7 separate regions of the Homo sapiens genome follow, and regions 2, 3, 4, 5, 6 and 7 are each linked to region 1. Evidence: promoter capture Hi-C in 16 types of primary human blood cells and fetal thymus (Javierre and others, 2016). All regions are on one chromosome and are shown on one strand. The core of a region is centred on a gene start or on the middle of the fragment in contact, and the rest is flanking DNA. Distances in the headings are between cores, read along the strand shown. Region 1 holds the start of POU4F1 (POU class 4 homeobox 1). Region 2 overlaps RBM26 (RNA binding motif protein 26). Region 3 overlaps RBM26-AS1 (RBM26 antisense RNA 1). Region 4 has its middle 45 kb from the start of EDNRB-AS1. Region 5 overlaps NDFIP2 (Nedd4 family interacting protein 2). Region 6 has its middle 160 kb from the start of RBM26. Region 7 overlaps RBM26 (RNA binding motif protein 26).

Region 1 (3,278 bases), core at 655-3,154:
GTAGGACTCACTCTTTCCCTCTAGCGACGTCCTGCTCATCGTCCACTCCCCGTTGAGATAAAGTTGCATTTAGCGCTCCCAGGGGACTGCGTAATGGATGGAACCAGCTCCTTCTCTCACCAGCAAGTGAACATCCTTCTCACTTCCCTCTGGAGCTAGAAGGAAGGGAGGGGGTGGGGGGGAACATGAAAAGAAAGAAAGAAAAAGCCATGGTGACGCCTGTGGGCTCTTCTTGGAATCTGAGTAGGTGAGTGGGTATGCTAAACACACATGCATTTGTGCAGAGGAAAGATAAAATCCACGGGAACGCAAATTTAGGTTTATAGAAATGAGATCTGCTCTTTGGTGGAAATACAGACTTCCTTGGTGTGGGAGAGAACAGAAAGATTATCTGATTTCTGCTTTCCATAAGCAGCCCCTTGCTGCTCTCCAGCTCTCTTACCGCAGATGTGATAACATCTGGGCTGTTAGGTTATTATCACCGCGAGCAAGTGCTCCTTCCCTGGGGACTTTGGCACCTGAACTGTGGCTCCCCTGGGAGGCTCTTGATCTGCTACCACATAAGGGCCATATAACAGGTTGGCTAATTGATTTATTCTTTTTAGGTCTTAATTTCACAATAATTTTTTAAAAATTTAAAAACTGGACCAGAGCTTGTCCCCGTTCTTTCAAATTGGCTTGATTTAATATTTTTGAATCAAGCTTTCCTGTAAGTTAGTTTGATCTGTCTCCTATTGAAAAAAATATATATAAGCAGGCAGAGATATGAGGCAAAAAGCCAAAAAGATGGAAGGGAAAAGAAAGTTCTCTTTTCAACATCTTATTCCCTTTTCTCTGAAGCAGTTTTCCTGGAGTTCCCAGCATAAAGTGTGTGTGTGTGTGTGTGTGTGTGTGTGTGTGTGTGTACGCTGAGGGGAGGAAGGATCCCAACTACACCCTGTTAACTGTTTTTTCCTTTTGATTACTAGAAGCCTTAGATCACCCGGAGCTCGTTTGAAACGTGGGTTTGTACACGGTTGAAGGAGACAAACAATAAGAGAAATGCACAATTTCATTTCAACAGCTTTTCCCGAGTAGAAAGCACACGCTCCTTGTGGCTCCTAAGTGGCTGTCACTGGCGGTGCCTGACACAGTTATATTCACAACAACAACAAAAAAGTATGCGGAGGAAATTAAATTATATGGAAATCAATAGCGTCTGACTGCTTCAAACAAATGTCTGTCACCGCGATTATTCTCCAGGAACCTATTTATAAACCTTTAAAGAAACAGGTTCTTGCAGCAAAAGACAGCACCTTCTGCATTTCTGTGTTGTTATTTATACTGTATACAGAGGAATGCGCGGGCATAATTTAACGTAGAAATGTCCAGCTGTATACATTATACAACAGCTTGTTAGGCATCCCGAAGAGGAGGAATGCCTAAGTAATGCTCATATATTCAAGGCTTGCTATCAGGGAGAAGAAACATACACACATACACACACACGCACGCACACACACACACACACACACACATAGAGGGGCGTGCGCGCATCTCGTCTTTTTTATTCTAAAAGGTGCCCACCCTTAGACAATAGCTGGACCTTCTGATCTTTCCAGACCACGGTGGGAAAGGTGAGGCGGGCAGTGCGCATGCCCGGGTAGCTACAGGTGCATCACCTGCGCTGTCCTTGCTGGTGGTCACTATAAGAGCGGCTCCCACGCGCTGGTCGCGGCCGGACGAGCGCGCGCGCGCGCAGACGCACGGGGCCGCCGAGAAGGAGAGCGCGCGTCAGACAGACGGAGACAGCTGATGCCTGTCAGCGCGGTGGGGCCGCGAGCTCTCGCGAGAGCTCCCCGGGACGGCCGCGAGAAGTGGGGCTCAGGTGTTAGAGGAGTGCATCCCGTCGGCGCGCGGGGCTAGAGCTGTCGGAGAAGCGGGACCGCGAGGCCGGCGCGCGGCGCTCTGCGCGGTCAGAGGGAGCGCCTGGCAGCAGCAGGAGCAGCAGCAGCAGCCCGCGGCGGGGCCGCCGCCAGCCGCCGCGACCGCCGCGGCTGCAGCCTCCGAAGGGAGGCCGGGTGAGCCGGCGTACGCACTTTCCCGCGGACTTTCGGAGTGTTTGTGGATATACATGCCAAGCCGCCACGATGATGTCCATGAACAGCAAGCAGCCTCACTTTGCCATGCATCCCACCCTCCCTGAGCACAAGTACCCGTCGCTGCACTCCAGCTCCGAGGCCATCCGGCGGGCCTGCCTGCCCACGCCGCCGGTAAGCGCCCCACGCCCGCGGCCCCGGCCCGCGCGCCCGCCCCTCCCCGTCTCCGAAACGCTGCATGTCGGGGGCTGGTGTGTGCAGGTCCCGGTGCGGGGAACTGCGGGCAGGGGGTGTAGAGCAGTCCCGCAGCGAGGCACGTTTTGTCCGGCGGCCCTTAATGTCGTGTTCCTGTCTGCCTCTGCCTCCGCGTCAGGCGCCTGCGATCGGAGTAGGGAGCGCTGGGGCCAGGACTCTCGACTTCCCTCTACTTTCTCTGTTAATTTCACGCCTCAGAAAGGCAGTCTCTGTGCGTGCTCGGGTGTGTGACACGGGTCCCCAGCTGCGAGTTACATTTCCATTTCTTCTTTTCCCTCTTTTTCGTCTCCCACGCCCGTTTCCGGAATGTGTTCTTGTGTCCCCCTTTCTCCCTACTTCTGTCCCCCTCTCCACGCTCCCATCCCTTCTCGTCTGCCCCCTCCCTGGTCGTCAATGTGCCCCCTCTCCGTCTTTCCCGCTCTCCACTGCCCCCAAACCCGTTGTTATTTTGGTTGCTTTGTGTTTGCCCTTCGCATGCTGTGCTTTCCGGCCTGTGTGTGTGTTTCTTCTGTTGTTTTGTTTTGCTCTTTTGGTTTTGTGGTTTTTTTGGTTTGGTTTGTGTCGCCTGCAGCTGCAGAGCAACCTCTTCGCCAGCCTGGACGAGACGCTGCTGGCGCGGGCCGAGGCGCTGGCGGCCGTGGACATCGCCGTGTCCCAGGGCAAGAGCCATCCTTTCAAGCCGGACGCCACGTACCACACGATGAACAGCGTGCCGTGCACGTCCACTTCCACGGTGCCTCTGGCGCACCACCACCACCACCACCACCACCACCAGGCGCTCGAACCCGGCGATCTGCTGGACCACATCTCCTCGCCGTCGCTCGCGCTCATGGCCGGCGCGGGCGGCGCGGGCGCGGCGGCCGGCGGCGGCGGCGCCCACGACGGCCCGGGGGGCGGTGGCGGCCCGGGCGGCGGCGGCGGCCCGGGCGGCGGCCCCGGGGGAGG
Region 2 (3,669 bases), core at 279-2,778, 720 kb before region 1:
TTAAGTATGTTACCATCACTAATCCTTTTCAGTTGTCAGAACTGGGAGTGAAAAAAAAACATACATATATATATATGTATATGCACATATATACACATGTATAAAGAAATTTAGAGCTCATACTGATACTTTGCATTTAATTTGGGGCTATAAAGTTTTTAATACATACACATATATACACACATACAAGTAGATAGGTAAAGATAAATTCAGAATTCACTCTGATACTTGTTAATTCTAGACTCTATGGTTTTTACTTAATCTCATGGGTCTTAATGTCTCTACATTTTTCCACCTTTCTCACTGACACCAACATGTGGGTGAACGGATATGTACGTTTAAATTTTTAATGAAAATTGCCCACCATAAAGGTTATACTTATTTGCCCACCAAAGATGTATGAGAATGCTTTTTCCCTACACTCTTGCCATAGTGTGTACGCTACATAGTGGTTTTACTACTTTTCTTATTAAAAAAAAAAATCCATAGGTATGTAGTTTGTCCTCATTTTTATCGGAGTGGGGTATCAGTTTTATCTTCAGTTTATCAAACTGAAATAGAAACTCATTTAGGTTTTAATTCACTTTTCTGATTGTAGTTGAGCCATTTTCATGTTTAATTAAATGCTGTCTGTTTTTATTGTTTGTTTTTATGTCTATCAACTGTTAATGTCATTTGCCCATTCTATTATTTTGCTGAGTAGTCTTTTTTTTTTTTTTTTTTTTTTTTACTTAATGCAGGGGCTCTTTGTATATTTGGAAATTAGCTCATAGCTTATATTTTTATGAATTTTCATTTATGCTGTATTTTCCACAATAATAGTTAATTGTCCAGTTAATCTTTTTTTATAGTTTGAAAGGCTTTCACCAATCTGAGATAAGAAACATTTTCCCTTGTTTTTTCTAATACTCTTAATATTAATAGGCTTTTTTTTTTCTTTGAAGACTTCACATTCATTTTTTTAAAAATTTACGTGGAACTTATTTGGTCTAAGGAGTGAAATAGGAAGCCTGTTGGGTTCATTAGTTAAATCTAGTTTTTCCAGGCTTATGTGAAATATATAAATTTCTGATATGTTTATTTGGGTGTGTTCCAGACTCTTCCATTGATGAGTTCTCTCTTCATGTGCCTGTTTCTCACTGTTTTAATTAAACTAGCTTTCTAAACTCAGTAGTTTGTCAGGGCAGTTTGGATTCCCTCTCACACCCAATTATTACTCACTTTCAGAATCTTGCTGGTATGTTTTAGGTGTTTATTTTCGATGTAAACTTTTGAATAAACTTAGTTTCAAAAAGATAGACTAAGTTATGGGAGAATGAACATAATAATACTAAATTTTCCTCAAATGCTAAGTCTTCCTCTAAAACCTCATTGTCTTTCAAGTTCTTCAGTACTTTTTACATTGTAAGAGCATTTTAATTTTTTTTAACATAGCCAGTATATATTACTAGTGTTAAGGTTTTCTTTTTTAAAAATTAATTTAATTTTTAGATTCAGGGAGTACACATGCACGTTTGTTAATGAGTATATTGCATACTGGTAGGGTTTGGGGTTCTAGTATACCCATTACCCAAATAGTGAACATTGTACCCATTAGGTAATTTTTCAACCCTCATCTGTCTCCCACCCTTCCTGCTTATGGTTTCTTTATATAGACAACATACATTGCTTATAAATTTCCCCATAATAATTCATCTTTTTATTGCTATTTTAAATGAGATCTTTTGTTCCATAATATTTTCTATTGGTTCTTCATATGTAGGAAGACTGTTCATCTTTTTTTATTAAATGTGTAACTGCCATCTTATCAAACTATTTGATGGTTTTAATTTTGCTCTCTTGGGTTTTTTGGGTTTTCATTCAATTTATCTTTGGTTAAACATAGTTTTACCTCTCACATTTCTACACTTATACTACTTTCTGTTATTTCATCGTTTACCTTTAGAAAAATGTTAAAAACATCGATAATAATAGTGACTGACTTTTTTGCAGAATGAAAATGCTTCTAGTATTTTCAGTATTATGTGTGATGCTGGCTTTTTGTCTTAAGGTAGAATACAAATGACTCTGTTTCATTAAGATTTTTGATCAGAAATGGATTTTTTTTTTTTTTTTTTGAGACAGGTTCTCATTCTGTCACCCAGGCTAGAGTGCAGTGGTCTGATCACAGCTCACTGCAGCCTTGACTTCCTGAGCTCAGGTGATCCTCCCACCTCAGTCTCCCAAGTAGCTGGGACTATAGGCACACGCCGCCACAGTTGGCTAATTTTTGTATTTTTTGTAGAGATGGGGTCTCACCATGTTGTCCAGGCTGGTCTTGAACTCCTGAGCTCAACCAATCTGCCTGTCTCAGCCTCACAAAGTGCTAGAATTACAGGTTTCTGTCACTACGCCCAGGCTAGAAATGGATTTTTATAATGCTTTTTGATGTTTGTATAACAATGACTTTTTTTTTTTCTTTTTCACCTTATTTCATTGCACTGCTTCTAATCATTCTCTTCTGGTTTAAATCCCATAGTACTGTATTTTTAAAAATCACTAAAGTCTCTTCTTTTTCTTTCTATTTCTCTTTTTACTTTTTAAAATGATTTTCAAAAGTAAGATTGGTTTGTAAATTTTGGGAGGGATATTTTTGTCAGGTATCTCTATTACCTGTCATTGGAAAGTTTCCATTATTCTTTGCTTTCTGAGATAATTTAAGTTGCTTTGGAAATATGTTTTTTAAAATTTTAATAGAATTCATTTGTGAAACTATCAGTATCTAATGATTAAATGTGTCTTTTTACAGGCTGTTTTGTAGAAATGATTTGTTTAAGTTTATCTTTGCTGGCTTTAGTTTGGTACTTTGGTAGTTTTTTCAAAAATTATCTTTTTAATCTAGATTATCAGCTACATTTGCATTGGGAAGCAAATTTTATCTTCATCTGATACTATTTCCCCCCCTTTCATATTTTGTGGATTTTTACATTTAGGTCCACTTTCACCTTTTTGACCACTACGTCCTAGCCCAAGTAGGCATCCTGTAGAGCACATTTAAACATGGTGTTCCTTAACATTTTATAAATGGCTATACAGTTCACTTTTAAAAATATATTTTAATGGAATTTTAAAGTACATGCATAACTCTTGAAGCACTGCCATAGCATACTTTAAAAAGTTATTTGCATTAATTATTCGTACTGTTTAAAAGCAGTACAAAGCAGATAATGTAGTACAATACAGTTCAGAAATAGACCTAAGTTTATACAATCATGTGCCACTTAAGAGGGATATGACCTGAAAAATGTGTTGTTAGACAATTTCATTGTTGTGTACACATCACAGAGTGTATTTACACAAACATAAATGATATAACCTACTACACACCTACACTCTATGGTATATAGCCCGTTGGTCTTAGGCTACGAAACTCTGGCATTGTGTTAACTATACTGAATACTGAGGCACTTGTAACACAATGGTAAGTATTTGTGTAGGCAAACATATCTAAACATAGAAAAGGTACAGTAAAAATAGGGTATAAAAGATAAAACATGGTATACCTGTATGGGGTACCTACCATGAATGGCATTTGCAGGACTGGAAATTGCTCTGGGTGAGTTAGTGAGTGAATGTAAAGGCCTAGAACATTACCATCGTATTTTATAAACTCGTACTTTAGACCTTATA
Region 3 (3,592 bases), core at 373-2,872, 810 kb before region 1:
GCCTTGGAAGCCTATTCAGCATTTCCTTTGATGCAATGAGTTACTTTAATTTCATTTTTAAAAAAAGAATTTCTTCTTATATAAGTAAATCGACTACGGATATTGGTTGAATGAATGGAACTACAAGCTATGTTATAAGAAAAATATATGTCAATAGAGGTCATGAGCCTCAGTGTGTGTTAGGCATTGTATCAATGTTCACTACCCCAGGCTTAGCGGCTTAAAAACATTTATTACTTGTCACCATTCTGTGAGTTGCTGGGGAGTTCTTTTGGTTTGCACTAGCTGTGCAAGTTGGTTGGTTTAGGATGGTCTCACTCACATGCCTGGTGGTTGTCAGGCTGGATCTTACTGGGACCTCATCACATGGCAGCCTCAGCATTCAAGCACTTTTCAAGTTGTTTCTTGCATCACATTTATTTTTATCTCATCATATTTACCTTAATCTCACTAGCAAAGTAAATCACTTGGACAAATCCAGAATCAGTGTGGGAGGACACTACTCAAAGCCCTGAATATGGGAAGTGTGAACAAACTGTGAGAGAGGACATTACTGTAATACCAGGTGTTTGGAAATATGAGTAGAGATGGCTTTTAGCCTCCTCTACCTTTCTAGCTCCTTAAAATGCAAAACAAACAAAAACCCTGAGATGTAGATGGCGTTTAGCCTCCTCTACCTTTCTAGCTCCTTAAAATGCAAAACAAACAAAAACCCTGAGATGTAGATGGCGTTTAGCCTCCTCTACCTTTCTAGCTCCTTAAAATGCAAAACAAACAAAAACCCTGGGCCGGGCGCGGTGGCTCACGCCTGTAATCCCAGCACTTTGGGAGGCCGAGGCGGGCGGATCACGAGATCAGAAAATCGAGAGCATCCTGGCTAACACGGTGAAACCCCGTCTCTACTAAAAATACAAAAAATTAGCCGGTCGTGGTGGCGGGCGCCTATAGTCCCAGCTACTCAGGAGGCTGAGGCAGAATGGCGTGAACCGAGGAGGCGGAGCTTGCAGTGAGCCGAGATGGCGCCACTGCACTCCAGCCTGGGCGACAGAGCGAGACTCCGCCTCAGAAAAAAAAAAAAAAAACAACCCTGTTAATACTTTTTTAAAAACTAGTTCATTTTATCTTTTCCTCTTTCTATGGGAGATTTACAAATATCAAAGAAAGACCATTAAAAAAAAAACAGCCTTTCTTGTGGACTAATGTTTCACTTCATGGCACCTTGAGAGTCAGACAAGTGTCAATCAACATTTCAAAAATGGTAATTATAATGTAGGAAAAAAGTGATAAATGACTGTTGAAAAATGTATTATCTATTCTATGTTAGATTTGGGGAATAAAACAGTGGGTAAAAAAAGCTTTTGCCTTCAAGGAACCTAATCTTTTAACAATACAACGTGATGTAATTGTAACAGGGATAAACACTGTGAACACTCAGCCCAGTCAGGGAAGGTTTCCCGGAGAAAGCGACTTTTAAGGTAAGTGCTGGAGTTAGATGAAGGATAGGGTTGGGCATGGTAAATGTTCTAAACCGAAGGGGCTCTTTGTGCAAAGAGTACAATGACGGACACCATGGCTTGTTTGTAGAAATAGATTAAGGAATTTACAGGCTCTATGCACCAAAATATTATAGTGCTTTCCCACTTGAAATTCAAAATAAAAATAATGCTAACTATAAAACTACATGTAGGGAAGTCTTTCTGATTTTTCCAATGTTCTCATCATTTAAAAAATAATAAATACTCTAAAAATATATTCATGCCTCTGTGTTGATGATTTATTCAGCATATACCAGTTCATCTATTGCATAATGCAGTACTGTTCTGGGAACTGCAGATACATGGTATGGCACCATTGTAGAATGTAAAAAGTGGAGAATGGGAGAAGCTTAAGAACTAGGCAGGTGTCAATTAATGAAAGATGTAAGAAAGCATGTGGTTAAGGATGTGGTGTTGATTACTGACCTGAGTTCAACCTCTGCCATTGACTCATTCTATAAACTTGGGCAACTTGAAGCTTAATTTCCTCAGCTGTAAACTGGGAATGCTAAATTGTGAGAATAAATAAATGTAAAGCATTTAGAACAGTGCTTAATACCATAAAACACAGTTAATTTCAATTAAGTATTACAATTAATAAATTTGTACTTTAGCCTGGGATATGGGGAGCCAATAAGGGTTTACATGATTAGAGGGGGCTTTAATGGATTTCTTTGGCTGCAGTGTATCATCTGGGTTGAATGACAATGAGTAGATTCTAGGTATGCCTAGGAGGAAGACTCAATAGATATTCATTGGGATATTAATTGGATAGTGGTAAAAGGAGAAGGATGATACTTAGATTTTTGACTTGAGCAATTGGATGATGGTGGCTTTCTATGAGTTACATATCACAGGAAAGGGGCAAAATTGGTTAGTGAAGATAATGAGTTTAGTTTTAGAGACTGATTTGAGATGCCTAGAAGACATCCAAGTAATGACCTTTGGGAAACATCAGCATGGATATAGGAGTTGAAATAGTAAAAATAGATAAGATGGGTTGGGGATCATGTTTAGATTGAAAAAAGACCAACAGGAATTCCAAGGCACATCCATATGAAGTGTGGTTGAAGTTCAAGAAGGATACATTACAGTATTCAGAAAAATCAGGGGGAAAAACCCAAGAAGATTGTGATGCAATAAAAATAGCAGGGAAAAAAGTGTTTCAAGAAAAAAACATGTGAACAATGTTGTCAAATGTTATATTTGATCAAATAACACAAGACTAAATGTGGATACTACATTTGGTCAGTGTCAGCGAAAAGCAAGTCACTGATAACCTTGGCAAGAAGTGTTTTGGTAAAATGATAGAGACAGAAGCTAGTTCATACTGAACTGGAGTGATGGAAGAGAGGAACCTGGGACAATGAGTACAAACAACTCTTGCTTGCCTATAAAGAGAAAAGGAAAGAATGGTGGCTGAAAGCAGATCTTCAAATGATAGAGCTGAATAGTTGTTTTTTTAACAACTTTGAAAAGATCAACACCATTAACACTCTAGTTCAAACTTCCAACATCTCACATGGACCATTACAATATTCTCCTAATTGTTTCCTTCTTCTACCACTCCCCATTGTATCTTTCTTGGCTACCCCCACCTCAGCCCCATACATTCTCCACACAAATCTAATTATAGCCTTTCCTTACTCATGTAAGCCAGTTGTAGAAGGCTCTTCCTTCTTGAACTAGAATGGGTATACCTCTTAATATTCTCTAGTGAGAGAGATCAGAGAAGCTATGGGGCCTCACACTACTGATGAGTGTTCATCTCTATCCTGTAATTCATCTGCTGGTAAGTGTTTATTCTTACTTAATAATTCACAAAAGGAAGGGTGGTAGCCCCCACTTTGCTCTCAGTATTGGCTGGTCTCCCTGCAGGTACTCTTCCTTCCCTGGGCCCTACCACACCTGAGCTTCCCAAACTGAACAAACGCCAATGATGTTTTCAGCAGTAGTTTCATAGAAGCATTCTAAAACATACCAAAGCAGTACAGAGTAAGAGGACTAAGAGTTACTCTATTAATACACTGAGCTCTTTATTTCTTTCCTTTATTTCA
Region 4 (3,801 bases), core at 171-2,670, 830 kb after region 1:
AATCATTAGTGCAGGAAATTGAGTGTTTCTATGACTAAAATGTAAAATGTGCGCTACTTAGCAGTTAAGCAGGGCAGGGGGGCATTAGGAAAATGGTATCAAAAGCAGAAAGCAGTGACTCATGTTCTGCCATGGTAAGCATCTGGTAAAGCCGTTGCCTGTAACATCTTAGTCTGCGAGACTGTGGGAGAGTGGACCACAGCCCTCACTCACTCTAACCCTTGGATGTGATGTGCACTAAACAGAATCTGCCAAGCACAAACCACCAAATTGGCTTAGCTCTGTTAAAACCAAGTCTTTCATCTATATTCCTGTCTTCGTGCCCCTCCTATATTTTCCTTCCAGTCTATCCACTGTTTATTAGGTGAATACAATCGTCTCCATGGTGGATATGGTACTTCTCTGAGCATGTCTCTCTGCATAGCACAGGGACAAAGCTAAAAATCACATCTATCAAACTTCCTTTCTGCAAGGATTCCAGATGTGACTTAGGGCACACCCATCACTATTGCAGGAAAGGTGACAGTTCCGCAGTTTATGGTGTTTCTGTTGCAAGCACAGCCATGAAGACATTGCCTTTACTGTGTGGCAGCCTTCGCAGAGGTCCCCACATATGGTCCATGACTTTCCTGGGTGGGACAGGTGGGACATGTGACCTATCCACTTTCTGTTGGTGCAAATGTGGCAGGCATGATGATGCAGCCACGATGCTGCTTCCTGATCCCCGGACCACAGTTAGTGCAGTGTGTTAGTGGAGCCAACGGTTCCAGTGGCAGCTTCAGATTCCCCACGTCCCTGTCTCTGGCCATGTTAGCAGATCCCCTGGCAGGCCAGATCTGTGCTGCTATGCTACGGGCTGTTCTCAGAGGCCCACCCTAATTGGGCCCACCAGTCCTCCCAGTGATCTTGCAGACACTGAATTCCTCTACCAAATTCTACTTATGTTAAAGGATGCAAAATTACAGCTAGATAGAAGGAATCAGTTCTGGTGTTCTGTAACACTGTAGGATAACTATAGTTAACAATAATATATTTTTATATAGTTTCAAACAGAAGGAGGATAGTGAATGTTTTGCAACACAAAGAAATGATAAATGTTTGAGATGATGAATATGCTAATTACCCTGATCTGATTGATAGGTACTGAAACACCACCATGTACCCCCTGAATATGTACATTTATTTATCACTTACAAAAATAAAATTAGGGCAGGCAAGGTCACTCATGCCTGTAATCTCAGCACTTTGGGAGGTGGAGGTGGTAGGATCACTTGAGGTCAGGAGTTCAAGACCAACCTGGATAACATAGCCAGACATTGTCTCTACAAAAAAAAAAGGTTAAAATTAAATGGGTATGGTGGAGTGTGCCTTTAGTCCCAGCCACTCAAAAGGCTGAGGTGGGAGGATCACTTGAGCCCAGGAGGTTGAGGTTGCAGTGAGCCACAGTTGTACCACTGCACTCCAGCCTGGGGTGACAGAGCAAGATCCTCTCTCTAAAACATAATAACATAAATGAAAAAAATTAATTTAAAAAATTCTCCCTTAAAAAAGCTAATTAGTGCTACCTGCACTGAGCCTGGCTAACATAGAATTAGGTATCATTCTTGCCTTCACATCTTCCCTCAGAGAGATCTAGCTCCCCACTCCTACTTTGCATGAGCTACGAGGCCCTCCCCAAATTGGCTCCTGCCCAGCCTTTGGCTTTGTTTCTTACAGCACTTCCTTATACCCTACAATGCAGCTAAATTAAACCAATCCCTGATTGACTTAGCAATGTAACTTCAGGTCCTTGCACACACCATTCCTTTGTACATACTGCTGTCTCTGCAAGGAATGTCCACTGGCCTTGTGCCTGCTTCCACTCTTGGCTCTCTTTAATTTATTCTCATATAAAGGTAGAGTAAGTTTTTAATTTGCTCAACTCACTCCTTTTGAACTGCATTCAAATCCAACTTCTGCCTCTTAAGAGCTCTGCGTCCTGGCATAAGTTAACCTTTCTGCACCTGGGTCTCCCCATCTTTGAAATGGAGATAATAATAGTATTTACTTCCATAAGGCTGTGTGAGGATCACATAAGTAAAACGTTCTAAAGAGCTACACAGAGTATCTGGCACATAGGAAAAGCATTATGAGTGCTGGTATTATTAAGAAATCATTTCCCATTGAATTTGAAATAAAGCTCAAAGTGCTTCATGTAGCCTTGAGGTTCCACAAGATTTTCCCTCTGCTTCTTCCTCCAACTCAGCTCTTACCTCTTTCCTCTTAGCCGGGGCTGGCTTCACTGGTGTGCCACCTACACAGTATGCAGGGACCCATGATTAGGAGAGTCCCAGACTTGGTTTAATACTCCACTGTCACCATCCTGAAATTCTTAATATGTTTTCAACAAAGGGCCCTGCCTTTTCATTTTGTGCTAGCTCCCACAAATGATGTAGCCAATCCTGACACCAGCACACTGAGGTCCTGCCATCCCAATCTTCTGTTGATCCTTCAAACACCCCAAAATCTTCCCTATCTGTGCCTGGAAAAATCTTTCTCCTTCTCTTCACTTGATTAACTCCTGTACATTTTCAGCTTAAATATCCTTTTCCCAGAAGAGGAGGTCCCAAGGATGATTATTTAAATGGGATACCTTCAGAGAACCCCTATTGAAATAATCCTTTTTCTCTTCCTCTCATTCCCTACCATTCTATATCTCAGCTCCTACTTTTTCCTTTGCAGAAAAGAAATAGTATTTTGCTTATTTGATTTGAACCTTTCTCACTAGAATCAGGAATGTAATTTCCACGATGATAGGAATCATGCCTGACTAATTGGCTATTACATCCTCTGCATCTAGCACAAAACCTAACAAATAGTAGACCCTCAATAATATTTGTTGAATGGATAAACTCAGAGCCTAGTTTAAAATAAAATAATAACACTTAAGCTACCTGGAAAACCTTCCGATCCCATCAAAGTTGATCATTCCCTCTGTCCTAAAACCACTCTGTGTATCTTTTTCTATCTTTTGTCGACACAGTGCTGCATTGTTTATATGACTGTTTTCTCTGAATTTCAGAGAGCCTAAAAGTCTGTATATGATTTCTTCTCCCCAGTCCCAGGCTGACACTTCAATTGCACATACATAGATTAGGTATAACACTAAGGGTCCTTATACTCCCTAGAAGAATGGTAAAGACAAAGATTAATGCAGATGCAAATTGTAATTTCTTGGGTGACCACTAAAAGAATAGCAAAAGACAATTAGGCTATAATTTTCAAACTAGTAGGAAATTAAAACAGAATGATAAAGCAAACTAAAGTAAGACTAAAATGGAAACCAAAGGAACAGACACAACAAACAGAAAGCTCATAAAAAGGTGATAGATTGAAATCTAAATATATCAGTGATTATTTTAAATACTAATGGTTTAAATGCTGAAGTTGAGTCAACAATGTTCATACTAGATTTTTAAAAAAATCAACAAACTATATGATGCTTAACATAAGACTTCTAAAAGTTTGAAAGTAAAAGGTTTAAAAATATACATTATATAAGCACTAAAAGAAATCTGATGTGTTTAAAATTTAACATAGCCTTGATATCAGAAAAGTAGGTTTCAAGACATTAAAAAAAGATAAAGAATAGTTCCATTGATAACAGGTCTACTTTGCTAGGAAGATAAAACTTGTTAAATATGTATACACCAAAGTTACATGGTGTATGTCAAAAAACATAAAGCAAATTTGATAGAACTGTAAGGGGGAACATTTACACTCACCATTATAGAGGGAGGTTTTATCACAACTCTTGGAAAT
Region 5 (3,442 bases), core at 811-3,310, 890 kb before region 1:
AAACTACAACATAGAATAGTTGGCCCAAGATCACAACGTTTTTGAGAAGTCAAGATTTGAACCCAAGAGGCAGGACTACAAAGATCATGATTTGGGTAGGGAAAGCAAGGACATGTAAGAAAGCAAAGTAAAATTAATAAAAATAAATTAGTGGCTGAAACTGCATATGTTAAAAATACACAGTAAAATAAAGCAGCTGAAATAGTTAAAAGGTTTTTTGGGTTCTTCCCCACCAAGGAGAAAAACTTACAAGATAAAGGGTGAAAAGGAGATTGCTGTTTTTAATTATTCGTCTTTTGGTGCTCGGAATTTTAAAAGTGGACATGTACTATTTGATTTTTTTTAATATGATGGTTAAAGAAAACACCTACAAGCTAAATCCAGCCCAATGAAAGATTACCGAGGTGTGAGTGCTACACAATTGGCTGGGTTCATTGTAGCTAGATGATACCAGACTTTTTAAGCTATACCATTCATGCTCTCTATGTCTGGCATTGCCATAAATAAAAGAAACTTAGCTATCATAAAGGTTTTATTTCCCAGGATCCTTGATGTATTTTAACTCTGTTGCTACGTTTACGGTAATAAAATCTGTCCTCTAAGCTTTCCTGCATAACCTTGAACAGAACCTCCCTCGGATAGTCTTCTGTAAAATGAGAAGATTGAAGAAAATGATCATTAAGGACTCCCCTATTTCCACAATATCTGGAAACAATTTCCTTTTCTCTTTTCCATGGGTAGACCAAATAACCTAACCATGGTTACTATCTTGCAAATGCAAGCCACTGGTTACAAGAGGAATTATTCAAAAATACCAGAACTCATCTAAACTGATTCATCAGCACTATTATAAAAGCAAAGGATATACCCTAATTATGAACATCAAGAATATCAACAGTGCATAGGCTGTGCAAAACATTATTACTTTTATAGCACAGAATTCTGTAAAACTACATATCACTTTATAAACATAATAAAATATACCAGTATCGCCATGCACACACTTGGAATCATTCAGAAAAGACATTCATTTATTTCTTTAATAAGTATTTATTTTGCACCTATAACAGGACCAGAACAATGACATAAACTATTATAAACAAGACAGATCTAAGCCCTGCTTCCCACTGAGTTTACAATCTAGTGGGGAAATACACACCATGAAATAAGGGCTATAACAAGGATAAGTGCACACAGTTAAAAGAACACGCAGAACTTGAAAGTAAAGAGCAGGAAATGGAGATGGGGAGGTAAAAGGGAAGGAAAGGTTTTTTGAAGAAAATAACATCTAAATATAGATCTGAATACACAATTGAAATTAGTCCTGGAAGAAGGAGGGAGAAAAGAAAAAATGGGAAAGATATATTTAAAAGCTACAAAGCAAGAGATAGCATGATTTGGGGTGGTGATAGAGAAACAAAAGCATTATAGTTTAAAACATGGCCAAAGTATGCAATGCAGTAACAACGTAGGCAGGGATGAGGTATGCAGGTGCTCCTGTTGTTCTCTAAAGGTTAAAAACAAATACTTAAAAGGGCCTTAAGTGTGGCCAGGAACAGTGGCTCATGTCAGTAATCCCAGCACTTTGGGAAGCCAAGGCAGAAAAATGATTTGAGAACAGACTGGGCAACATAGTAAGACTCTATCTCTAAAAAAGAAAAAATTCAGCCAAGCGTGGTGATGCATGCCTGTAGTCTCAACTACTTGGGAGGCTGAGGGGGAAGACCGCTTGAACTCAGAAGGTTAGGGCTGCAGTGCTGTGATCCACCAGACTGCACTCCAGCCTGGGTGACACAGCGAGACTCTGCCTCAAAAAAAACAAAACTCTCAAGTGTTATTTCAAGACTCTTCCCTTTTGACAGAAATCACACAAAAAGTCATCTGATATAGATGAAAGCTCTCCCGAGGTGAGGAGAACAAATGTTCTACAAAAGCTGTCACTTTGAACACTTATAAAGAAAGGAAAAAAAAAAAAAAAAAGGTGTCACTACTGGATTTCCTCAGTCCAATATCCAAAAGGCTATATGTCCTAAGACCCCCAAAATTAGTAAAGGGGTTAATACCATCACATTAGAAGATTCTTTTACAAAATGAAATCCAGTTCACTCCCTTATTCTCAAAACCTCTGTCCAAATAGCACAATTTCTTTACATAATGTTATGAGTAATTCTGGAGAAACATCATAGATGAACTAAACCACAGCACATTCCTGAACTTTTAAAATATTAAACTGTACATGTTCAAACAAATCTTAAAAGCAAGCAAGTCAAAACCCTGAAATAATCTGACAGTAAATCTTAGACTACTGCAGCATTTCCCAACTTGCATTTGGCACGTCTTTAACAAGAATTTTACCCACACCCTAATTCCAGCTAAGTGATCAAACATCTGAAAGAAACCATAACAACATGGCCCGAAAACAGAGACATACGATGATTTACAATTGCATAGCCTTAATTACAGTGATCTTGTCAGTAAATTTACATTGACTAAACGTCAGTAGAAGATTCCATACCATTCCACAGTTAATTAAACTCAAGTCAGGCCTACATATATAGAATACATACAAAATCCTAAAATAACATATTGCGAATACACATACAATTGAGCAATGTTTTAGAATGAAGGTCAGATATTAAGAAAATAGTAAGAAGAAAATAGTTGCCAAGTAATCAATATAAAAAAGATAAGGAAAATCAAACCAGTATTCACAACTCCGCAGTTTATGAAGGTGATAAGCAGGGCCACTGCATATGGCTTCATGGGCTACTTATTGAACAACTCTAAAGGACACCATTCAGAGAGAGAGACAGAGGAAGACTAAGCAATATATTTCAAGCTGGAAGAGAATGCAAAGAAACAACCACCACCATCACCCCCACCTTAAAGAGCCCAGGTCTCAGTAGCAGAAACAGAATAAATATAAAAAGGAATAAAATAACATAGGCAAGGTTTTATGTCTATAAAATTGGCCTTGAACTAGCACCATTCATTCATCTTTATCAAATACTGAAAGTCTACCATATGGCAGGTATGGAAAGATATATACAGTAGTGAGCAAAACAGACAAAAATCTCTCTACCACCATGAGGCTTAAATTCAGGGAGAAAGAAGGGAGGTAGGAAATAAATAAGCAAAATATTTGGAATACCAGAAGATGATAAGTACTCTGGATAAAAACAAACAGGAAACAGCGATAAGGAGTACTGTGAATGGGATATAGTGATTTAAAATAAGGTAGTCAAGAATGACCTCAATGAGGCAATCACACTAACAGAATGAAGATTCTACCATATTTGAATAAGCTGTTTTTGACACTCTCACAGGGAGTATTATATTCTCTTCTACTATCCACTCATATCCATCCCAATTCTAGGACAGACTAGGTGCTTGGCTGATTATCAGGTGCAAGTAAGGGATGCAAAACAACCTCACCACATTG
Region 6 (3,301 bases), core at 698-3,197, 650 kb before region 1:
GGTTTCTCTTCCAAAGATTTGAAGACTTTTGTAAATTATTACAGTCATTTGAGATTGTTTAAAACTTCCTTGTTGGGACAGAGGGAAATGGATGATGAGCTCTCATGCCTCCAAAGGTGTTTTACAAGTTACAGTATCACTGTGATGCTGTTCTAAGAACGGCCACTTCTAAATTCTTCTTTCTAAGCTCAAATAGAAGAAAGTTCTCCCTTCACTTCTCTTGTCCACATGTGAAATGAATAATGCCTGTTTCCTGTCATTCTGTTATTAACTTCATTCTCAGTAAAGGGAAGCAGGCCCAGTGGCCACTGGAAAAGAAGAAAACCCAAGAAATACTTGAAAGCTTACGTTTCTACCCTATTAACAAGGCCAACTCTAGGGTGGGGGAAGTGGTTTTATTTTTATGGTAATTTAGCTAGCAACTATGTGAGGTTGGCTTGCGTTTTTATTGTTGGTTTTATTTTAGTCTGCACGACCAGTTGGATCATTTAAGAACCTCAAAAGTTGCCAAACGTTGCATTTTCATATCTACCAGCATAGATGGATTTAATAATTGAATGCTGAAACTCAATTGTAGAGATAATTTGTGAACTCTTAATTTGTTTATCAAAAATATAGGTAGAGTGCAATGACAGAATTTTTTTTGAGGGGGAGGGTGGGATCAAGCTTGAAGATGCAGTTACATTACTCTGCAGCTCTACCCTGAGCACAAGTACACGAATATGAGATCTGTTATATTAGTACTGTGTTAATAGTGTCATTGGCATTTTAAACACCAGAAATATCAAAGCAAAACTAAATTCCTGAAAGTAAAGAGTAATTGAGGCCAGGTGCAGTGGCTCACACCTGTAATCCCAGCACTTTGGGAGGCCGAGGCGGGCGGATCATGAGGTCAAGAGATCGAGACCATCCTTGCCAACATGGTGAAACCTGTCTTTACTAAAAATACAAAAAATTAGTTGGGCGTGGTGTCGGGCGCCTGTAATCCCAGCTACTCGAGAGGCTGAGGCTGGAGAATCACTTGAACCTGGGAGGCAGAGGTTGCAGTGAGCCGAGATCATGCCACTGCACTCCAGCCTGGCAACAGAGCGAGACTCCGTTTCAAAAAAAAAAGAATAATTGAAAAGTTAAAAATTAATATATTATCTAACCATTTTTTTTGCCACTGCTGTGTGACACTATTTTTATAGCTTTATTGAGGTATAATGAACATACCATGAACTGTATGTATTGAAAATGTACACTTCGATGAGTTTTGACTTATGTACACACCCATGAAACCATCACCACAATCAAGATATGTGAATGTATCTACATTTCTAAAAGTTTCCTTGTGAACCTTTGTAATCTATCTTTTACTCCCCTCCCTAACCTCCCTCTTCTTCCCAAGGCAACAACTGGTCTGCATGGCGTCACTATAGTTTAGTTTGCATTTTATCAGATTTTATATAAATGGAATAATATAATATGTGGGTTTTTTTTTCTATCTTCTTTCATTCAGCTCATTATTTTTGTTTGTTTTTTAGATAGTTCAGACAATAAGAAAGTACATTATTTTGAGTTAATTTATGTTGTTGCACATAGCAACATTCTTATTCTTTTTTAAATTTGAATCTTTTTTTATGGTGGAGTAGCAATGCATTATATGGATATAGGACAATTTATTTATTCATTCCTCAGTTGAGGGACATTTGAGTTGTTTTCAGTTTTGGCTATTACACATAGAGCTGCTAGGAACATTCCTTTACAAGTCTTTGCTTTCATTTGTCTTAGGTAAATGCCTAAGAATGAAATCTCTGAGTTGTATGGCATGTATATGTTTACCTTTAAAACTGTCAAAGTGTTTTTCAAATTTATTGTACAATTTTATATTTCCTCCATCAGTATATAAAAGTTCTAGTAGCACCACATCCTCCCCAGCACTTGGTGTGGAGAGTCTTTTTAATTTTAGCCATTCTAAAAAAAGTAACGTTTGGGGCTGGGCATGGTGGCTCATGCCTGTAATCCCAGCACTTTCGGAGGCCGAAGTGGCTGGATCACGAGGTCAAGAGATGGAGACCATCCTGGCCAACATGGTCAAACAATGTCTCTATGAAAAATACAAAAATTAGCTGGGCATGGTGGTGCACACCTGTAATCCCAGCTATTCAGGAGGCTAAGGTAGGAGAATCACTTGAACCTGGGAGGTGGAGGTTGCAGTGGGCCAAGATCACGCCACTGCAATTCAGCCTGGTGACAGAGTGAGACTCCAACTAAAAAAAAAAAAAAAAAAAGTAATGTTTGGAAATGTAGCGAGATCTCATTGTAGTTTTAATTTGTATTTCCCTAATGCCTAATAATATTGGGCAACTTTTGATGTACTTGCCATCTGTATATCTTCTTTGATCGAATATCTGTTCAAGTCTTTTTCTCATTTTAAACAGTGGGTTGTCTTCTAATTGAATTGTAAGAGTTCTTCGTACGTTCTAGATACAAGTTTTTTTTTCTTATATATGCTTTGCAAATATTTCTTCCCAGTCTGAGGCTTGCCCTTTATTTTCATCACAATGTCTTTAGAAGAACAAAATTTTAATTGATGAAGTCCAATTTATTATTTTGTCTTACAGTGTGTGCTTTTTTGTGTCATATTTAAGAAAACCTTGGGCTGGGTGTAGTGGCTCACCCCTGTAATCCCAGCACTTTGGGAGCCTGAGGTGAGTGGATGACAAGGTCAAGAGTTCAAGACCAGCCTGACCAACATGGTAAAACCCCGTCTCTAATAAAAATACAAAAGTTAGCCAGGCATGGTGGTGTGCGCCTGTAATCTCAGCAACTAGGTAGGCTGAGGCAGGAGAATCGCTTGAACCTGGGAGGCGGAGGTTGCAGTGAGCCGAGATCGTGCCATTGCACTCCAGCCTGGGCGACAGAGTGAGACTCCATCTGGAAAAAAAAAAAAAGGAAACCTTGCCAAGCCCAAGGTCACTAGATGTATTCTGTGTTCTTTTAGAATTTTTGTGGTTTTTAACCACTACATTTAGGTCTGTAGTCCATTTTTAATTAAATTTTGTACTACAAACTATTGCTTAGCAAAATTTTAAGGAGACCTAAATAAATGGAAAGCTATACCGTGTTCATGGATTGGAAGACTCAGTACTGTTAAGATGGCAATTTTCCCCAAATTGATTTATAAATTAAACACAAGCCCAATTAAAATCCCTGCAGCCTTTTTTGTAGAAATTGACAAGCTTATTTTAAAATTTATATGGTAGTAGAAAGTACCCAAAATAGACAAAAAAACTTTAAAAAGTACAAATGTGGATGA
Region 7 (3,307 bases), core at 797-3,296, 740 kb before region 1:
AAAAAAGAGTGGGATTTATCATAGTTTTTTTTTCTTAACTGTTATTGACTATTTTTAATTTTTATTTTTTAATTCAGTGGCCTCTCAGGATTATTACCTGCATTTTTTTTTCAGGAAAATATGAAATTAATTTATTTGAGTGTATTAGCTTTGCTGAACTTTGTAGTAACTAAGCTATTTGTGTAGCAAAAATTCATTACTAGCTGTACATATTTTTTACTTTGATGTTTGTTAAAATATTTCTCTGCAAGTTTTTTAATCTTTGTTTCTTTTAATCCCTTTGTCTATTTCACTTATATGTGGAATCTTAAAAAGTTGAACTCATAGAAGCAGAGAGTAGAATGGTGGTTACCAGTGGCTGAGGACAGGGGATTGGGAAATGTTGGTCAAAAGATATAAAACTTCAGTTAGATAGAAGAAATAAATTAAAGATATCTATAGTACAACGTGGTGACTATAGTTAATAACAATGTGTTGCATTCTTGAAAATTGCCAAGAAAGCAGCTCACCACAAAAAAAAGTGACGTAATACAAATGTTAATTAGCTTGACTTAGCCATTTTACAGTGTATATATTTCAAACAGCATGTTGTACATGATAAATACACAGACAGTCATCAACTTACGGTGACTTGACTAACAGTTTTTCAATTTGATGATGCATTTATTACTTACAAGTTGAAAATGTATTTTCAACTTAAATGGTATTTCAGCTTACAATGGATATAGCCCCATCATAAGTTAAGGGACATCTCTATACAGTTTTTGTCAATTAAAAGAATAAAATTTTGAAAGCTACAAAAAAGATAAGGTAGATCAGTGCATTAAAACATACTTTGTGTTCTTGAAATTTAAAAACGATTAATATCTAAAAGTATGTATAAACTTAACTTTAAACCAAAATCCCATTCTTCTCACCAGAATTCTCAGGTTTGATACAGAACGCACATCTGTGTGCTGCTTTAAGTGAATATCATAAACGAACATTCAGATTTACTGAACAGGTGACTACTTACTATGAAAACTGACCATACAGTAACTGTATTAATACGTTTCCTACACATAGCTCCTCATACTGTCTTTTGATTGCATTAAACCAATGTATTTCTGCTTTAAAAACCTGTTGGAGCTATTTATTGTGAGTGTGGCTGCTAGACATCATAACTATATTTGTATTTAATTTCTACTTAGGCATTGGTTATTGAAAAATCATACTCGGATAACTTAATTTTACAAAATACTTTTTCCCTTCCATTCTTATCTATGAAAAACAGCTGTTTTTCTCTTTCTTTACGATTACTTATAGTTATTGTGGCTGGTATTATTTTACATAGGAAATAAAATAAGGAGGTGTTAATGGATTGTAACCTCCCTCTCTTTAGGGAAAATAAGAGGTATTAGTGCTATACATTTTAACAACACAGCACATGATACTTTTCAACTTATTTTCTGAGTTCAGCATACCAAACCTGACAATATACTATAAGAAAGGAAAATTACAGACCAACATCTGTCATGAACATAGACACAAATATCCTAGAGAAAATATTAGCAAATGTCCAGTGATACATGAAATACATAATCATTCATGGCCAGGTAGTATTTATTCCAGAAATTCAAGGTTGATTTACCATTGGAAAAATCAGTTTAATTGATGTTAGTAGAATGAGGGAGGAAAAAACTCTAGATGATTAGCTCAGTAGAGAAAGTGTTCTGTTACTTAGTTACATTAAACACTCTGCAAAGGAGGAATAGAGAAAAACTGTTTTAATTTGATGAAGGAAATCTGCAATAAAAGAAAAAAAACTACAGCTAACATAATATTCAATTGTGAAATATTGACTGTTTTTCCTTGAGGTTGGGAAAGACAAGGATGTCCATTTGCATCACTTTTATTTTTTTTAGTATTGTACTGGAGAGACTCATGGGTGCACTAAGGAAGGAAAATAGAATAAACCATATAAAGATTGGAAATAAAACTGTTTACTTGCAGATGACATGGTTGTAGATATAGAAAATTCAAAATAATTCACACAGTTGGGATTAAGTAAGTGTAGTAAGATGTATAGAAGTAAATATGTAAAAATTATAGCACATATAGAAATGCATTTGGAATATAGAAATGTGGTTGTTTGGAGAAGTCACTGTCTCTGTTCTTAGGAATTGGAGTATCTTCTTTTCTGTTGGGCTCGTTACTTCCCTCCACTAATTTCAGTTTTAATAGATTTTCTTCTTTTGAAAATACATGTGTCTCTTACTATCCAAACTGTCTAATCTCCAGAACCAGATAGATTCAAATAGTGAACAATATAGTTCATTGTTTATAAGTCACATTTTTACATTTTAACACCTCTGACGTTGGGCTGTGTCTTATAATTGTTAGACACAGGTTATGATTGGCAGCCTTTTTTTCTTTAGTAGGGGTACATAAATGATAGTTTGTCTTACAGTCACTGAGTTGTAGCCTTAGTGAGTCACATTCGTGGATGTTCTAGTTTTACAGAAGGATGTTCCTGGATAAAAAAGGAAATGGGAATACTTCTAGGAATAAAGGAGTCTTATCATTGTCAGATACTTTTATTCACTTTGAACCAGCACTCCTTAGTCTGATACTACATGTCAAAAATGATTTGAAAAGGAGTATTCTCACTGAAACTGGAGAAATACTTGGTTAAATAAATTATATGGGTTTGTTCTTGGCTTCTCACTGCTTTTATTATGAAGATAATATAAATTAAAAACTGGAAAATTGGGTTACGATATTCATTGTTTCACACTTAAATAATTAGGAGTTTTTTCTTTTGGCCACAACTTTTCAACTTATGGAATCCTCATGAAGAAAACAGTTTGTGAAACTTAATTAGGCTCTGTTTTCAGTTTATCCTGTGTTTCTCTACTAATATATTGTCTTGTCTTTGTATAGTCATGTGGTTTGGCATTTTGTGCTGTGGTTAGGTAGCATGGAAGAAATTTTTCTCTAGAATTACAAAGAAAGGTCACTGAAGTCTGACCACAAACAAAATCTTTGTTTAATTGGTCGAGTATGGTGGCTCACACCTATAATCCCAACAGTTTGGGGCGCCAAGGCAGGAAGATTGCTTGAGCTCAGGAGTTTGAGACCAGCCTGGGCAACATGGCGAGAAACCCTGTCTCTACAAAAAATACAAAACATTAGCCGGGTGTGGTGGTGCGCGGCTGAGGTCCCAGCTACTTGGGAGGCTGAGGATCACTTGAGCCCATGAGGTGGAAGTTTCAGTGAGCCAAGATCTGGGCCACTATGCTCCAGCCTGGGTGACAAAGTGAGACCC

What was found. The method cuts DNA at HindIII sites, captures the fragments that hold promoters and counts their contacts. A CHiCAGO score of 5 or more calls a contact.
Region 2: a fragment that was not itself captured here is called in contact with the fragment with the promoter of POU4F1 in region 1 in 1 of 17 cell types (total B cells); the score reaches 5.1 in total B cells.
Region 3: a fragment that was not itself captured here is called in contact with the fragment with the promoter of POU4F1 in region 1 in 1 of 17 cell types (total B cells); the score reaches 6.4 in total B cells.
Region 4: a contact is called between a fragment that was not itself captured here and the fragment with the promoter of POU4F1 in region 1, in 2 of 17 cell types (M2 macrophages and M1 macrophages). The highest score is 6.9, in M2 macrophages.
Region 5: a fragment that was not itself captured here is called in contact with the fragment with the promoter of POU4F1 in region 1 in 1 of 17 cell types (erythroblasts); the score reaches 5.1 in erythroblasts.
Region 6: a contact is called between a fragment that was not itself captured here and the fragment with the promoter of POU4F1 in region 1, in 2 of 17 cell types (total B cells and naive B cells). The highest score is 9.6, in total B cells.
Region 7: a fragment that was not itself captured here is called in contact with the fragment with the promoter of POU4F1 in region 1 in 1 of 17 cell types (total B cells); the score reaches 7.4 in total B cells.

The regions. Positions count from the first base shown.
Region 1 is chr13:78,602,178-78,605,455 of GRCh38, reverse strand. POU4F1 (POU class 4 homeobox 1) reads left to right here and starts at 1,904. Exons shown (of 2, transcript NM_006237.4): 1 at 1,904-2,252; 2 at 2,905-3,278. The coding sequence starts at 2,130. It overlaps OBI1-AS1 (OBI1 antisense RNA 1), which reads right to left. Exons shown (of 6, transcript NR_047001.1): 4 at 12-155. RefSeq lists a silencer at 1,954-2,113. The HindIII fragment of the contact is 4,390 bases long and covers 705-3,278 here.
Region 2 is chr13:79,325,744-79,329,412 of GRCh38, reverse strand. All of the region lies in intron 20 of RBM26 (RNA binding motif protein 26), which reads left to right. Among named protein-coding and RNA genes, the nearest start is that of RBM26, 79 kb to the left of the region's middle. The HindIII fragment of the contact is 4,693 bases long and covers 1-3,669 here.
Region 3 is chr13:79,416,286-79,419,877 of GRCh38, reverse strand. It overlaps RBM26-AS1 (RBM26 antisense RNA 1), which reads right to left. Exons shown (of 7, transcript NR_038991.1): 4 at 1,962-2,043. Among named protein-coding and RNA genes, the nearest start is that of RBM26-AS1, 12 kb to the right of the region's middle. The HindIII fragment of the contact is 529 bases long and covers 1,358-1,886 here.
Region 4 is chr13:77,772,277-77,776,077 of GRCh38, reverse strand. No RefSeq gene overlaps it. Among named protein-coding and RNA genes, the nearest start is that of EDNRB-AS1, 45 kb to the left of the region's middle. The HindIII fragment of the contact is 5,148 bases long and covers 1-3,801 here.
Region 5 is chr13:79,490,791-79,494,232 of GRCh38, reverse strand. All of the region lies in intron 1 of NDFIP2 (Nedd4 family interacting protein 2), which reads right to left. Among named protein-coding and RNA genes, the nearest start is that of NDFIP2-AS1, 11 kb to the right of the region's middle. The HindIII fragment of the contact is 2,909 bases long and covers 606-3,442 here.
Region 6 is chr13:79,247,737-79,251,037 of GRCh38, reverse strand. No RefSeq gene overlaps it. Among named protein-coding and RNA genes, the nearest start is that of RBM26, 160 kb to the left of the region's middle. The HindIII fragment of the contact is 2,558 bases long and covers 669-3,226 here.
Region 7 is chr13:79,346,403-79,349,709 of GRCh38, reverse strand. All of the region lies in intron 14 of RBM26 (RNA binding motif protein 26), which reads left to right. Among named protein-coding and RNA genes, the nearest start is that of RBM26, 58 kb to the left of the region's middle. The HindIII fragment of the contact is 6,086 bases long and covers 1-3,307 here.